2 separate regions of the Homo sapiens genome follow, and region 1 is linked to region 2. Evidence: promoter capture Hi-C in 16 types of primary human blood cells and fetal thymus (Javierre and others, 2016). All regions are on one chromosome and are shown on one strand. Each heading gives the region's core, a stretch centred on a gene start or on the middle of the fragment in contact. The rest is flanking DNA. Distances are from core to core; before and after follow the strand shown.

Region 1 (7,543 bases), core at 4,263-6,762, 1.9 Mb after region 2:
TTCACTCTTGTTGCCCAGGCTGGAGTGCAATGGCGCGATCTCAGCTCATGGCAACCTCTGCCTCCCCAGATCACGTGATTCTCCTGCCTCAGTCTCTTGAGTAGCTGGCATTACAGGCATGAGCCACCATGCCTGGCTAATTTTTTATTTTTTAGTAGAGACGGGGTTTCTCCACGTTGGTCAAGCTGGTCTCGAACTCCCGACTTCAGGTGATCTGCCTGCCTCGGCCTCCCAAAGTGTTGGGATTACAGGCGTGAGCCACCGCACCTGGCCGAATGTTCTTCATGTTTTAGCCCAGTGTGTCATGCCTCCCCACCTCTTCCCCCTGCCCCTGCCCCCTGCAATTAGGCTGTTGCATTGCCACAAAGAAATACCTGAGACTGGGTAATTTATATAGAAACGAGGTTAAATTGGCTCATGTTTCTGCAGGCTGTACAGGAAGCATAGTACCACCATCTGTTTGGCCTCTGAGGAGGCCCCAGGGAGCTTTTACTATTGGCAGAAGGAGAAGAGAGAGCAGGCACATCACATGGTGAGAACTGGACCAAGAGACTGTGTTGGAGGGTGCCACACACTTCTAAATAACCACATCTTCCTGGCACTCACTCACTATTGCAAAGACACCAAGCCATGAGAGATCCACTTCCATGACCCAAACACCTCCCATCAGGTCCCACCTCCAAAAATGGGGACAATTCAACATGAGATTTGGCAGGGACATATATTCAATCCATCCCTGGACCCCCAAATCTCATGTCCTTCTGACATTGCAAAACATAATCATGCCTTCCCAATCACCTACCAAAATTTTAACTTGTTCCAGCATTAAACTCAAAAGTCCAAAGTGTCACAGGAGACATGGCCCAGAAAAAGAACTAATCCCAGCTCCTTGGGAGGCCAAGGCGGGTGGATCACGAGGTCAGGTGATCCAGACCATCCTAGCTAACACGGTGAAACCCCGTCTCTACTAAAAATACAAAAAATTAGCGGGGCGTGGTGGCGGGTGCCTGTAGTCCCAGCTGCTCGGGAGGCTGAGGCAGGAGAATGGCTTGAACCGGGACGCGGAGGTTGCAGTGAGCCGAGATTGCACCACAGCACTCCAGCCTGAGTAACAGAGCAAGACTCTGTCTCAAAAACCAAAGAAATCTCCAGCAGCGGAAATGTATGTAGAACTCATTTTGGTCAGTACTTTTCCTTGTACAGGAAGAAACTGAGGTCGCCCGGTGCAACGCCCAACACAGGTTAAGACAAAGCCGAGACTCAAAACCAGACCCCAGCTTCCGGTCCCAGCCCATAGATTCTTCCATTTCCTTCGCCGGAAGTGATATACAGCCCCTGTTCTCCTTCGCGTCCGTTGACGGGACCCAGGTTGGGGAGGCGGAAGAATGGGCGGGACCATGGGCGGAAGCACCCCTCCTACCAGGACCCGGAAACAGATGGCCACCCCGAGCCGGCCTATCCGGAAACTGGCTCGAAGAAGACGGGGATTGGCCATCGCTTCCGGAAGTTGTGAGCTTTGTTTCGGAGCGGGAGCTCTTCCGAGACGCACTGGGGGCCGGATGGTGAGTTTTCCTTGCGCTCTAACGGGCAGGCTCGGGAGCGGGAGGGTCCGGGCAGTTTTAGTAGTGTCTTTGGGACAACGGCTGCGGTTGGTATTTCTCAAGCGGCAACGAGGCCAGCCCCTGGGAATGCAGCACGAGAATGATAGAGTCAGGCTGTCCCCTCAAGAAATAGTTTAGTGAGGAGACATGCAGCGGATAGGCGCAGGATTCTTCAGAGTTGTGATTGGGCCCAAAAAGGAGCTAGTCCTCAGACTAAAAAGAGCCGTAGTGCCGGGGTTCTGGGCGCTGTAGTAAATGGACTCCAAATGGAGTTGAAGGGAGGGAGGAGTGCGTCAGGCGGAGATGAAAGGAGAGAGGGAACTACCTGTCCGATAGGGCAGAATCGGGGAGAAAGGTTGGTGACTTGAGCTTAGAGAAGGCCATTGCGGCGGTAGCAGAAGAGGAGAGGCAGGGACCAGATCGTAGAGTGTGGAACACCGTGACACAAAGTTGGGGCTTTATCATAAGAGCAGCAGAATGACAAGATCTGATGTACATTTTGAAAGGATCACTGTAACTGCTGGTGACGACTGGATTATAGGAGGGCAGGAATTGTGAGAAACCACTCAGAAGGCTACTGCTGTAGATGAGCGATGTGACCTAGCGTATGGGAGAGAAGTGGACGAATCAAAAGTATATTTAGCAGGTGAAAATTCAGGACTTTACGGATTAGATATAGGATTTGAGTGACAGGTTGGGTCTCAACGATGATTCCAAGTTTCTGACCTGAGTGAGTAAATTACGCTAAACAAGAACAAACTATTTTGAAGTTTTCTAAGGGTTCTTCCCCCCACTCAGTGTTAAAAAGCACGTTTTTTTCCTTTCTTATTATGTGTACTCATGTTTTGTGTGCTTACTGTAGAAAATTCAGAACATACATAACAAAATATTTTCTTTTATATAAAGGACAATAAAAATCACCTCATAACCTCACTACCCAAGATGGTCATATTTTAGTGTTTCTTTCATGTATTTTAAAAAAATATGTGTATCTTTTTATATAATTGGGATCCTACTGATTATGTCTTTCTGTATCCATTTTTTCCACCTTAGCATGACTAATGATTGAACTGTGTGCCAGGATATCGTTCACAAATATATTTTTTTCTGTTTGTAACAGAAAAAGTCAAATTAATTCTAAATAAGAGATAACATTAACTTTTTGGTGTATTTTCTTTTTAATATTTGTTTAAAAGCCTTTTAAAAAACCCACATTTTGGCCAGTTTGTGTTTTGTTTTCCATTCAGATGTTTTTACTTACTTAATGTTATTTATTGCCGTTTTTACACACCGTCAAGACCACATGTTTTAATGGTTGTTAAATAACAACTAATCCCATCATTAGCTAGATAGGTTATTTGCAACTTTTTACTGTTAAAATAATGAGAGGAACATCTTATATAATTATTGGATTCCTAATGACTTCCATCAGAAAGAGTTCTAGAAATATAATCTGCCAGGTAAAAGGATAAAATGAGTCTCAAATTGCCCCACCAAAATATTTTATTAAGAATTTGATAGAAATTGTTTTAAAGAAATTTTTGCAATACATAGTTTTTCCATTCAAAGATATGGTCATGTCTTTCTGGTTATTCAAGTTGTCTTTTATGTTTCTTTTATGTCTTTATATATAATAACCTATCCTTTTCTTGTTAAGCTTATGTCCAAGAAAGGAGCGACATTGATTATTTAATAATTGTACCCTCTCTGCTTAATTTCCATGCGTGGAATGAATATCTTTGGGTCAAGTGGGATACTTTATCCTTTTTTTTTATTTTTATACTTTAAGTTCTAGGGTACATGTGCACAACGTGCAGGTTTGTTACATCTGTATACATGTGCCATGTTTGTATGCTGCACCCATTAACTCATCGTTTACATTAGGTATATCTCCTAATGCTATCCCTTCCCCCTATTCTTTTTTTTTTTTGAGACGGAGTTTCACTCTTGTTGCCCAGGCTGGGGTGCAATGGTATGATCTCGGCTCACTGCAACCTCTGCCTCCCAGGTTCAAGCGATTCTTCTGCCTCAGCCTCCTGAGTAGCTGGGATTACAGGCATGCGCCACCATGCCTGGCTAATTTTTTTGGCATTTTTAGTAGAGACGGGGTTTCTCCATGTTGGTCAGGCTGGTCTCGAACTCCCAACCTCAGGTGATCTGCTCGCCTCGGCCTCCCAGAGTGCTGAGATTACAGGCATGAGCCACTGCACCCAGCCTACTTTATTCTTTAAAATTATTTTCTTCCTTAATATTTATGTCTAGGCCTTCCTAAAATATAAATAAAATGATGAGATCAGGAAGTTAAAAAGACTAAGATAGAGTAAGACTTCATTAATACCGTAAGCAACCTCTGGTTTAAAAAATTCCTGACATTCTGCTCCTACTTGTCTGCTGGGGAAGCAGCCCTTCAACCATGCACCTGAGCCTGCCTCATCTGAACAAACAGCAACCAGCTGGGCCCCTTGGCGTTTCCCTGGGGATGACAACAGAACAACTCAGAAGGGTTAGGAAGACAACATCTCATGAGGATGCCAAATGGGCTTTGGCGATGGATTTTTCTAGTTTAACACTTTTATCAAGTTACTTTCAAAGTTTTTGAATATTTATTAAGAAATGAGTTCTGATGTTAACTTTTAAATGAAATCTTTTGGTCTTTTCATTTTGTGTGCAGTAGAATCCTGCTTATCTGTGAAATGCAGTTAACACATCAGCTGGACCTATTTCCCGAATGCAGGGTAACCCTTCTGTTATTTAAAGATGTAAAAAATGCGGGAGACTTGAGAAGAAAGGCCATGGAAGGCACCATCGATGGATCACTGATAAATCCTACAGTGGTAAATATAAATTTTAAGAATGAATGAGCCTGCTGGGTGCGGTGGCTCACGCCTGTAATGCCAGCACTTTAGGAGGCCGAGGCGGGTGGATCATCTGAGGTCAGGAGTTGAAGACCAGCCTGGCCAACATGGTGAAACCCTGTCTCAACTAAAAATACAAAAATTAGCTGGGCGTGGTGGCGGGCGCCTATAATCCCAGCTACTCGGGAGGCTGAGGCAGGAAAATCATTTGAACCCTGGAGGCAGAGGTTGCAGTGAGCCAAGATTGCGCCATTGCACTCCAGCCTGGGCGACGAGCAAAACTCTGTCTGGAAAAAAAAAATGGCCAGGCATGGTAGCTCACGCCTGTAATCCCAGCCCTTTGGGAGGCCGAGGCAGGCAGATCATGAGGTCAGGAGTTTGAGACCAGCCTGGCCAATATGGTGAAACCCTGTCTCTACTAAAAATACAAAAATTAGCTGAGCATGGTGGTGGGCACCTGTACTCAGGAGACTGAGGCAGGAGAATCGCTTGAGCCTGGGAGGCAGAGGTTGCAGTGAGCCGAGATTGTGCCACTGCACTCCAGCCTGGGCAACAGACCAAGAATCCGCCTCAAAAAAAAAAAAAAAAAAAAAGAATGAATGAGCCATACAGGGCATTTAAGTATACATTAATATTTGTGATGTTATAGGGTAGCCTAAAAATCTGTCACGGTTAGGGAAAAAATTCTTGTCCAAGTCAGATGCAGCCAACTTTGACTATAACAGTGAATAGAGGCAGAAGTGCCAGGTCCTGCCCTAGGAAATAGGAAAGGTTGTGGTCTGGGTCTAATATGGGAAATGCCTGGATCTCCAGCTTCTCATCTTTAAAATGGGGGTTCCTAACAAGACAGTCTGTAGAGGAGGAATAGTGTAGTGGTTAAGAGTACACACAGAGGCCAAGGTGGGTGGATTGCTTGAGGCCCGGAGTTTGAGACCAGCCTGGCCTACATAGTGAAACCGTGTCTCTACTAAAAATACAAAAAGTAGCTGGGTGTGGTGGTGTGTGCTGGTAGTCCCAGCTACTCGGGAGGCTGAGGCACAAGAATCATTTGAACCTGGGAGGCGGAGGTTACAGTGAATTGAGATTGAGCCACTGCATTCCAGCCTGGGCAATGGAGCGAGAGACTCTGTCTGTCTCCAAAAAAAAAAAAAAACAAAAAAACAGGGCACACGCAGTGCGATCATGTTACCGGGAATTAATCCCAGACCTACTACTTAGGCCTTTGAACAAGACATAACCAACCTTTATATAGTGCTTACTGCATTCCTAGCATTGTTCCAAGTGCTTTACGTATACTAACTTGCTTAATCTTCACAACAGCCTATGGAGTGAATACTGTTTCATCGGTCTCTAACAAATAAAATGCTAATGAACTTGCATAAGTTTCCTAGGTGATAGGTGACAGAGATGGGATTCAAACCCAGACATTCTTTGCCTCAATTTCCTCATCAATTACATACTACTACTACTGCTACTACTACTAATAATAGTGTCAATTTCATAGGGTAGTTTTGAGGATTAAAGAAAATATTACAAGTAAAATGTTTGCAATATGATCATGCCCATAATATTAGCCCTCAATTAATGTTATTTAAAAAAATTTTACTATTTGCATAAGTTCCTTGCAGCTTTAAAATTCTGTGATTTCCTGACTACCCAGGCCCTTGGGATAATAGTTGTTTTTTGTTTTTTTTTTTTTTGAGACAGTTTCACTCTTGTTGCCCAGGCTGGAGTGCAATGGCGCGATCTTGGCTCACGGCAACCTCTGCCTCCCGGGTTCAAGCAATTGTCCTGCCTCAGCCTCCTGAGTTGCTGGGATTACAGGTGCGTGCCACCACGCCTGACTAATTTTTGTATTTTTAGTAGAGAGGGTTTCGCCGTGTTGGCCAGGCTGGTCTTGAACCCTGACGTCAGGTGATCTACCCACCTTGGCCTCCCAAAGTGCTAGGATTACAGGTGTGAGCCACCGTGCCCAGCCGGGATAATAGTTTTGAAAATACAGACCGTAAGAATTGTGATGAAGTAAAACAGCTTGACACTGGAGTTAACCATGAGTTACCATGTGTTTTCAGGCACTGCAGATTCTCCATGTGTAATTAATTCTTTTTCCTTGCTTTGGTAGATTGTTGATCCATTTCAGATACTTGTGGCAGCAAACAAAGCAGTTCACCTCTACAAACTGGGAAAAATGAAGACAAGAACTCTATCTACTGAAATTATTTTCAACCTTTCCCCAAATAACAATGTAATGTGCACTTTCCTATTTCTGTTGACCGTGTCATAATAACATATGTGTTCCTCAGTGTTGGGTTGGAGGCTAAATTCCTGCAAGCCAGTGGTTAGTAATAAACCCAAATAATAGTGAAGAGAGCTCTGGACAGAGAGTTGAGGTTTAACCCTGCCTCTTACTAAGACAGTTTACATATGAGTAAACAAAAATTTAGCTAAATTAAGCGAGGTTAATTTTATCTGTTCTTACCATATAGGGTCAGGAAGACCCCTCAAGTATTTTTGCTTGAGAAGCTGACAGAAATCTAAATGATAAAACATTAGGCGTGGATATTTTGTGTGCTAGCCTGCATATCATTCTCTCTTCCCGTAAACTCCTTGAGGGTGGGATCCATGTCTTTTTCATATACCAGGAACTTGCTTGTACCTATAACAGTCCTTAACACAGCCTCACTCACACACCCAGTACATAGGTAGAGTTTGTGGTTTGAAATACTTATAGTAATGCTTTTTCAATGAAAGTTATCAAGCTAAAGACATCACACATGTAGCACATGAAAAAAATGACTGCAATTTTGCTGATGAAGTTTTAGTATTACTGCTGCTGTTAATAACAACCAGGTACTAATGTCATCTACAGGAAACCTGTAGCATAGGTTAAAATACAGATGATTGACAAGTTTATAAAATGCAGTTATCTCAGCATGGTAATAGAGATTCCCAGTACCTGGAATAAAATTTACTAATTATGGTTTCCTTGAGATCATTAGACATAATTCAGAAAACTCTTGAATTCAGTAAACATCTGTTGAACTTTTTCCCCGTTCCATTTACAGTTCTAGGGGCAGAAGAGGCAAA
Region 2 (6,865 bases), core at 3,373-5,872:
CGAGTCAGTAACTTTAAGCCAGGTACATATGCGGTGTCATTCACTGGTCACCTGCCCCAAGGAATCGTGTAGGAGCTGAAAAGTCGAGGAGAGACCTACAAATCCAGAGACACAGCTGCAGCACATCGTGTCCCTGAACCATTTTCTCTTCCTTGGATGACAGGTGCGGGTGGGAGGGATTTGGGTTGGTGGATTAACAGATCGAACTGAAGAGAAAGTAGGATGCTGATTTTCCTATCCATGGCCCAGGGATGCACCTTGCCCATGGCAAGGACTCTAGGTCAAATGCCAATAAATATGAACCTCTAGAAAGTTCTTAAGGCCATGATACATTCCTTGCCTCCCTCTCCCTTTCTCTTAGGCACAGTAAGAGCTTGTTTATGCTGTAAGAATCTTCCCAGAACAGCAGAGGCCCTTCTACTCCCTACTGACTGTCTCTGAGCCTTCTGTACTGCAGCCTTTCTAGTGTGCTTCCTTGCTTCCAATCAGAAGGTGCTGTCCAGAGGCTAGGTAATCCCATCAGCTTGGTAGTCCTGGGGTCTCGTGGTTGTATCTTTCTGCCCTCTAGACCTGGCACAGCAGTATCCCTTGAAGAAATCCTGAGGCTTCATAGTGCTCTTCGCTCCTTGACCACGTTTAATAATTCTTGCTTTTCCCCCTCCTCGTCTCTTCTCTTCTGTTTACCGCTCTTCCTATACCTTAGGCCAGTCTCACATCCCTGCATTTCACATTCTCCTAACTGGAGACCCTTGGGCCTTAGGCAACTGCTGGGTCCTAGTCTGCCTTGTTTGTGCCTCTGTAGGAGGTAAGTCCTTCCTTTTCTCCTCTGGCCTAGTAGGGGACCTTGGGTAATGTCCCATTTTGGCCAAGGTGAGGTATTCGTTTTAGAATAAAAAATTCACCATAAATTCTCATTTACTTAAATTTCCACAGAAATCCTGTTAGTGTCCCCGTTTTGATTTCCCTAAGTTGCTGGTTCTCCCTCTGTAAAAAGAGAATGATTAGACCCTGCCTGTTTACCTCAGGATTGTTGTGATTGTAGAAATGAAGCTATGTGAAAATTGTGTAAGTCTTACAAAGGTGAAATCCTTTTGCTTAAAAAATAATAATCTTCTTTTTTTCTTCTTTAACTGATTTTAAGCTCATTATGAAATATTTAATCTACATAAAAAGTATAAATGACAGTACAATGAATATTCATGTCTTTACCACCCACCTCAAGAAATAAATTATCAATATTGTGGAAGCCCCTGTGTATTTAGGATAGTTCATTACTATCCTAAATTTGGTGATTATTCCCATGAATTTCTTTCTCTTCCTCAATTTTCTACTTTGAAAATTTTAAAGCCTACCAAAAAATAGTAATACAATGAACACCTGTAGATCTTTCATCCACTTTTACCAACTGCTAAAATTTTGCTATATTTGCTTTATATACACATATCATTTTTTTCTGAACCATTTGAAAATGTCAGCCAGGTGTGGTAGCTTACGTCTGTTATCCCAACACTTGGGAGGCCGAGGAGGGTAGATCGTTTGAGCCCAGGAGTTCCAGACCAGCCTAGGCAACATAGTGAGACCTCATTCTACAACAAAAAAATTTTTAAAATAGCCAGGCATGGTGGCGGGCACCTGTAGTCCCAGCCACTTGGGAGACTGAGTAGGGAGGGGCCCAGGAGTAGGAGTTGCAGAGCCAAGATCATGCCACTGCACTCCAGCCTGGATGACAAAGCAAGGCTCTGTCTCAAAAAAATGGAACAGCAAGGCATTTCATCCCTCAATAATTTAGAAGGCTTATGCTAAGAATAAGGACTTGCTCCTATATTATCACGATACCCTTCTGACACCTATAAAAGTCAGCATTAATTTGATAACATAATCTAATACAAAGGTATCCAATCATCTGGCTTCCCTGGGACACACTGGAGGAATTATCTTGAGCCACACATAAAAGACACCAACAATAGCTGGTAAGCTTAAAAAAAAAAGGCACAAAAAAAATCTCATATGTTTTAAGAAAGTTTACAGATTTGTGTTGGGCCACATTTAAAGCTGTCCTGGGCTGTGGGTTGGACAAGCTTGGTCTAATACAGAGTTCATACTCAAATGTATGTCATTATCCTGGGAAGGTATTTTACATCTATTCGTTGCCCAATTCAAAATACAATCAAGCTTCACACATATTTGGTCATTAGTCTCTCAGACTAGGACTTTTTTCCAACTTTGTATTTTTATAACATTAACTTTTTTGAACAGTCAAGGCCTACTATCTCATCTCTGGATTCTGGATTGTTTCCACATGCCTAGACTAAGGTTAAATAATTTTAGTAAGAATATTACAGGGAGATGATGTGAACAACTTATTCTGTCACATCAGGAGACACATAATATCAACTGGTACCAATACTGGTAAAGTTAGGTTTGACTGTTTGGCAAAGTTTCAGAAGGCCCCCCTTACATTTCTTTTTACTTTTCATATGCATGTATGTCTGGGCAACATATATTGTTTCGTATAATTTTGTTTTTGTTTTTTTCTGAGACAGAGTCTTGCTCTATCGCCCAGGCTGGAGTGCAGTGGCACGATCTCGGCTCACTGCAACCTCGGCATCCTGTGTTCAAGCAATTCTTCTGCCTCAGCCTCTCGAGTAACTGGGATTATAGGCACATGCCACCACACCTGGCTAATTTTTTTTTTTTTTTGTACTTTTAGTAGAAATGGGGGTTTCGCCATGTTGGCCAGGCTGGTCTCGAACTCCTGACTTCGTGATCTGCCCTCCTCGGCCTCCCAAAGTGCTGGGATAACAGTCGTGAGCCACCGCACCCGGCCTATAGTTTTAAAACTTCATAAAAATAGCATCCTACTACATTAATGATTCTAAAGGTTTTTTTTACACACAGATTTGTGAAAATCTTCCATGTTTAAAAGTGAGCTCTAATTCACTCATTTTTCACTGCTATACAATATTCTGTCATATGAATGTATTTGCCTGTTCACCTACTGATGGATATCTAGGCTGCCTCTAAATTTTGTTACAAAAAATACTGTTACATTCATTCTCGTGCTTGTCTCCTTGTACATACACGTTAGGAGTTTAAGTTGTGTGCTTTCTGAGTGAGAAGGTATACACAACTTAAACTTAGTAAATTCTGTCAAATTGTTCTCTAGAGCATATAATTTACATTCCTATTTAAGTGAATTCTATTAAATGCCACTGTTTAAAAGAGATATTCCATTTCTACCCTCAAAAGCAAAGTTTTATGAAGAAATATTTTCTGAATCTCTTAGTTCTCTAACTCCAAGTTTACTTCTATTTAAATCCGTGGAATATTTTAAATGTTAAAAAAAGAAAAGAAAAAAAAAAGCCAGGCGTGGTACCAGTAGTTCCAGCTACTCTGGAGCCTGAGGCGGGAGGATCACTTGAGCCCAGAAATTTGAGGCTGCAGTGAGCTAAAATCACCACTGCACTCCAGCCTGGGAGACTGAGAGAGACTCTGTCTAAAAAAAATTTAAAAAATAAAAAAATTAAAAATCCCAGAAGTAATCCAATCAATAATCTACAGCCCTTTCAAAAAGCCTATAATCATATCAGGTTTTTCCTCTGAAAACTGGCTTTTTAAAAAGGTTGCTACATAGCTCTCTTTTCAGACCTTAAGTCCTTTAAATTTACATGTACCTCCAAGATTACCACCATTCATATAAGTTTTTATTCACACTATTTTGATGAGTAAGTTTCAGACACAATTTAGTGGCCAGTTTTACTGTGCTTTGTCTGCCAAAACTTCCAACCTAAACCATAGCAAATTTTTTAAGTTGGCCAATCGATTCCTATCCAGGGTTAAGGGTCTTTTGAGAGAAAAGAAGAGCTCTTGGACGTAAACAGGTATAAACAGGATATACCTCAGAGAAAAACTCTGGTACAGGACAAATACCACAGAGAAAAGAGTTTAAAATATGGGGAACCCCTACTTGAAGTTCTGACTCAATAAAACTGCAAAGAAGTTCAATGCTGGCTTGGGGAGAAGTGAGAAAGAAAGAACAGTGTGGTGCGCTGGCTCTTGAATCCTACACACCTGCTCGTGCAGGGGGAGGTGCAGCCCCCACCTTAGAGCCGGGACCTCGAACGCGAACGCGCTCACGCGCGCACCGACCCCAGTTGCCGGCCTAGCGCCAGGGCAGTGCCTCACCTGCGTTCCGGTTCCACGGGGCGGTGCTTGTCCACGATGACCGGTTTCGGCGGCGGTTGGAACGCACCGGGCTCGGAAGGCCCAGTGCTCTGCTGCCGGACAGGCCCCGCGTGGACCCCTGCGGGAGCGGACGACGGAGGTCAGAACTCTCGTGCCAACCCTGAGATCCCGCAGAGCCCCGCAATCTCCCCCAACCCGGCGTCCCACGGGGGACCAACGCTGGGGTTGCCTCTGATCTCCAGGTTCGCCTCCCCCATCCTGACCCTGGGCCCCTAACGCGCCCCAGCTCGCAAGTCCGGCTCCACTTACTGCAGGCGATAGAGGCCGGCGGGGGGAGCAGAGTCCTGGCGGCTTGGAAACTCCGGCCTAGGCCCATTGCAGCCCAGTGCCCCGCTGCAATGCAGGCCGCCATGCCAGCTAGCTCACGTCAAGACTACAGCTCCCAGTAATCAGTGCGACGAGGTTGTTGCTGTCTGCCACCATATGGCGGCTGCTATGGGACAAAATGGATAAGTCTCTCCTCGCTCCTTTCCTGATGTCTTAGGAAAAGTGCACGTTTCTCTAGTTCCTCGTAATGCGCCAAGTTACACCCCTCCACAGGGGTGTTCTCCCAGCCTAGAAAGCTTTTTCCTCCCCCTATGAATCCACTCTATCTTCTCAGACAAGCTTTCGCTATGCGAAAATCCCATTGTAGGCCGTCTTTCCCACTGGGTGCCTTCGATTGGCAGCTCTGATCTCATTTGCAATTCTTTCTTGTGTAATTATTAGATTAGTATTTAAATCTGCCATTATACTATAATGAGGCAAGGGAAGGGATAAAGTCTTCTTTTTGCTCACCATGTTATCCCAGCACCTAGCACCTACCTGGGCCCTCACTAACATCTTTTGTTTTGTTGAGACAAGGTCTTCCTCTGTTACCCAGGCTGGAGTGCAGTGGCGCGATCATGGCTCTGCAGCCTCCAACTCCTGATGTCAGGAGATCCTCTCACCTCAGCCTCCCGAGTAGCCAAGACTACAGTCTCGCACCATCACGCCCAGCTAATTTTTCTAATTCTTTGCTGAATGCACAGAAAAGAGAATAGAATAGTTCCTGACAGAACTGCTGGCCCATAGTCCTTGAGACTACACAAAGCATTAACCCTTTGAGGAACCCAAATGAATTTGGGCTGGGCAACTGTGGGTATGGATAGGTGGGAGAAGTAAAGCTGGAAAAGGTAAATTGTAAGTCTTGTTAAGAAATTTGGAAAATGACTGGGCGTGGCCAGGCATGCCTGTAATCCCAGCACTGTGGGAGGCCGAGACAGGAGGGTCCCTTGAGCTCATGAGTTGGAAACCAGCCTGGGCAATATAGTGAGACCGTATCTCTAAGAAACAAACACACAGCCGGGCGCAGTGGCTCACGCCTTTAACCCCAGCATTTTGGGAGGCCGAGGCGGGCAGATCGCCTGAGGTCAGGAGTTTGAGACTAGCCTGGCCAACATAGTGAAACCCCGTTTCTACCAAAAATAAAAAAAATGATCCAGGTGTGGTGGCAGGCTCCTGTAATCCCAGCTACTTGGGAGGCTAAGGCAGGAGAATCGCTTGAACCTGGGAGACAGAGGTTGCAGTGAGCCGAGATCGCGCCATTGCAACAAGAGCGAAACTCCGTCTCAAAAAAACAGAAAAAGAAACACACACAAAAAAAGAAATTTGGAATTTGTTATTTCAGCAGTGGTTATATAAGGATTGAACACTTAGAGTAATGTGATAATTTAACTACATAATAGTCATTCCAGTTGCATTAATGTCCCAAAGCTACCTCAAATTCAGCCTATCCATACTGAGTTCATCTTTTTCAGCTCCAGACTTCCTTCCCAGTATTGGCTATCTCAAGGAATGGCTTCAGCATCCACTCTCTTGCCTAAGCCAAAAATCTCAGTGCCATTCTTGATTCCTCCCTGTCTCCTCCTGGATGAAGTTCCAAAAACTATGCCTGACACCGTCAAATATCTCAGGAATCCATATACTTTCTCATCCTCCCATCCATATTTCCAATCTAGGTCAACATATTTTCTCTCTTCAGGATCCCTGGAGATCCCTGCAACAGCCTTCTCATTAGTCTTCTTGCCTCTGGTTACCTCCAGTCCTTCACGCAGCAACCAAAAAAAGATGGCTCAGAAATGCATACCCTGTTCTTTCCTTTCCCCAGTTTAAAGCCTTACTGTTTACTTTTGACAGAAGTCAAATGCTCATAAAAGCAACCAACCTCTGCAGCTTGGCCTCTATACTCTGACTTGCCATCCTGAAGAACATGAGCTGTTACATCAGCCTGAGGAACAGGGCCATGTTTTGAGCACAGAATTCAAGATGCTGTGAAGAAAGACAGGGCCTTCTATTTTAACTCTAGCTTCTTTGATTAGAACAAGAATTTATTCTATAAATGACAAGGAATCTCACAACCAAAATTTCAGATGAGCAATATTTTGGCTCTTCTACCTACCCGAAAAAGTAGACTTCAAGCCCTTAAGAGTAAAAGGGAGGAGAGGCAAAGATAATCATGACTGGCAGTGGTGAAGATTTTTCTGTATTAACCATGCCCAGAACACGTGGCCTTCACTCTTGCTGGGATTGGTCCTAAAGGTAGGGGCAGAGAAATAAAAGACAGACCTTCACAGGAGGACAGCAGGATTTACTAGACATT

Evidence for each region. The method cuts DNA at HindIII sites, captures the fragments that hold promoters and counts their contacts. A CHiCAGO score of 5 or more calls a contact.
Region 1: a contact is called between a fragment that was not itself captured here and the fragment with the promoter of MRPL19 in region 2, in 1 of 17 cell types (activated CD4 T cells). The highest score is 5.2, in activated CD4 T cells.

What each region holds. Positions count from the first base shown.
Region 1 is chr2:73,731,321-73,738,863 of GRCh38, reverse strand. TPRKB (TP53RK binding protein) reads left to right here and starts at 1,519. Exons shown (of 5, transcript NM_016058.5): 1 at 1,519-1,562; 2 at 4,273-4,435; 3 at 6,579-6,701. The coding sequence starts at 4,295. RefSeq lists enhancers at 1,078-1,137, 1,178-1,257. The HindIII fragment of the contact is 4,504 bases long and covers 3,261-7,543 here.
Region 2 is chr2:75,644,540-75,651,404 of GRCh38, reverse strand. It overlaps MRPL19 (mitochondrial ribosomal protein L19), which reads right to left and starts at 4,622. Exons shown (of 6, transcript NM_014763.4): 1 at 4,495-4,622; 2 at 4,186-4,303. The coding sequence starts at 4,597. It also overlaps the pseudogene SUPT4H1P1. RefSeq lists enhancers at 4,393-4,692, 4,528-4,822. The HindIII fragment of the contact is 2,636 bases long and covers 2,175-4,810 here.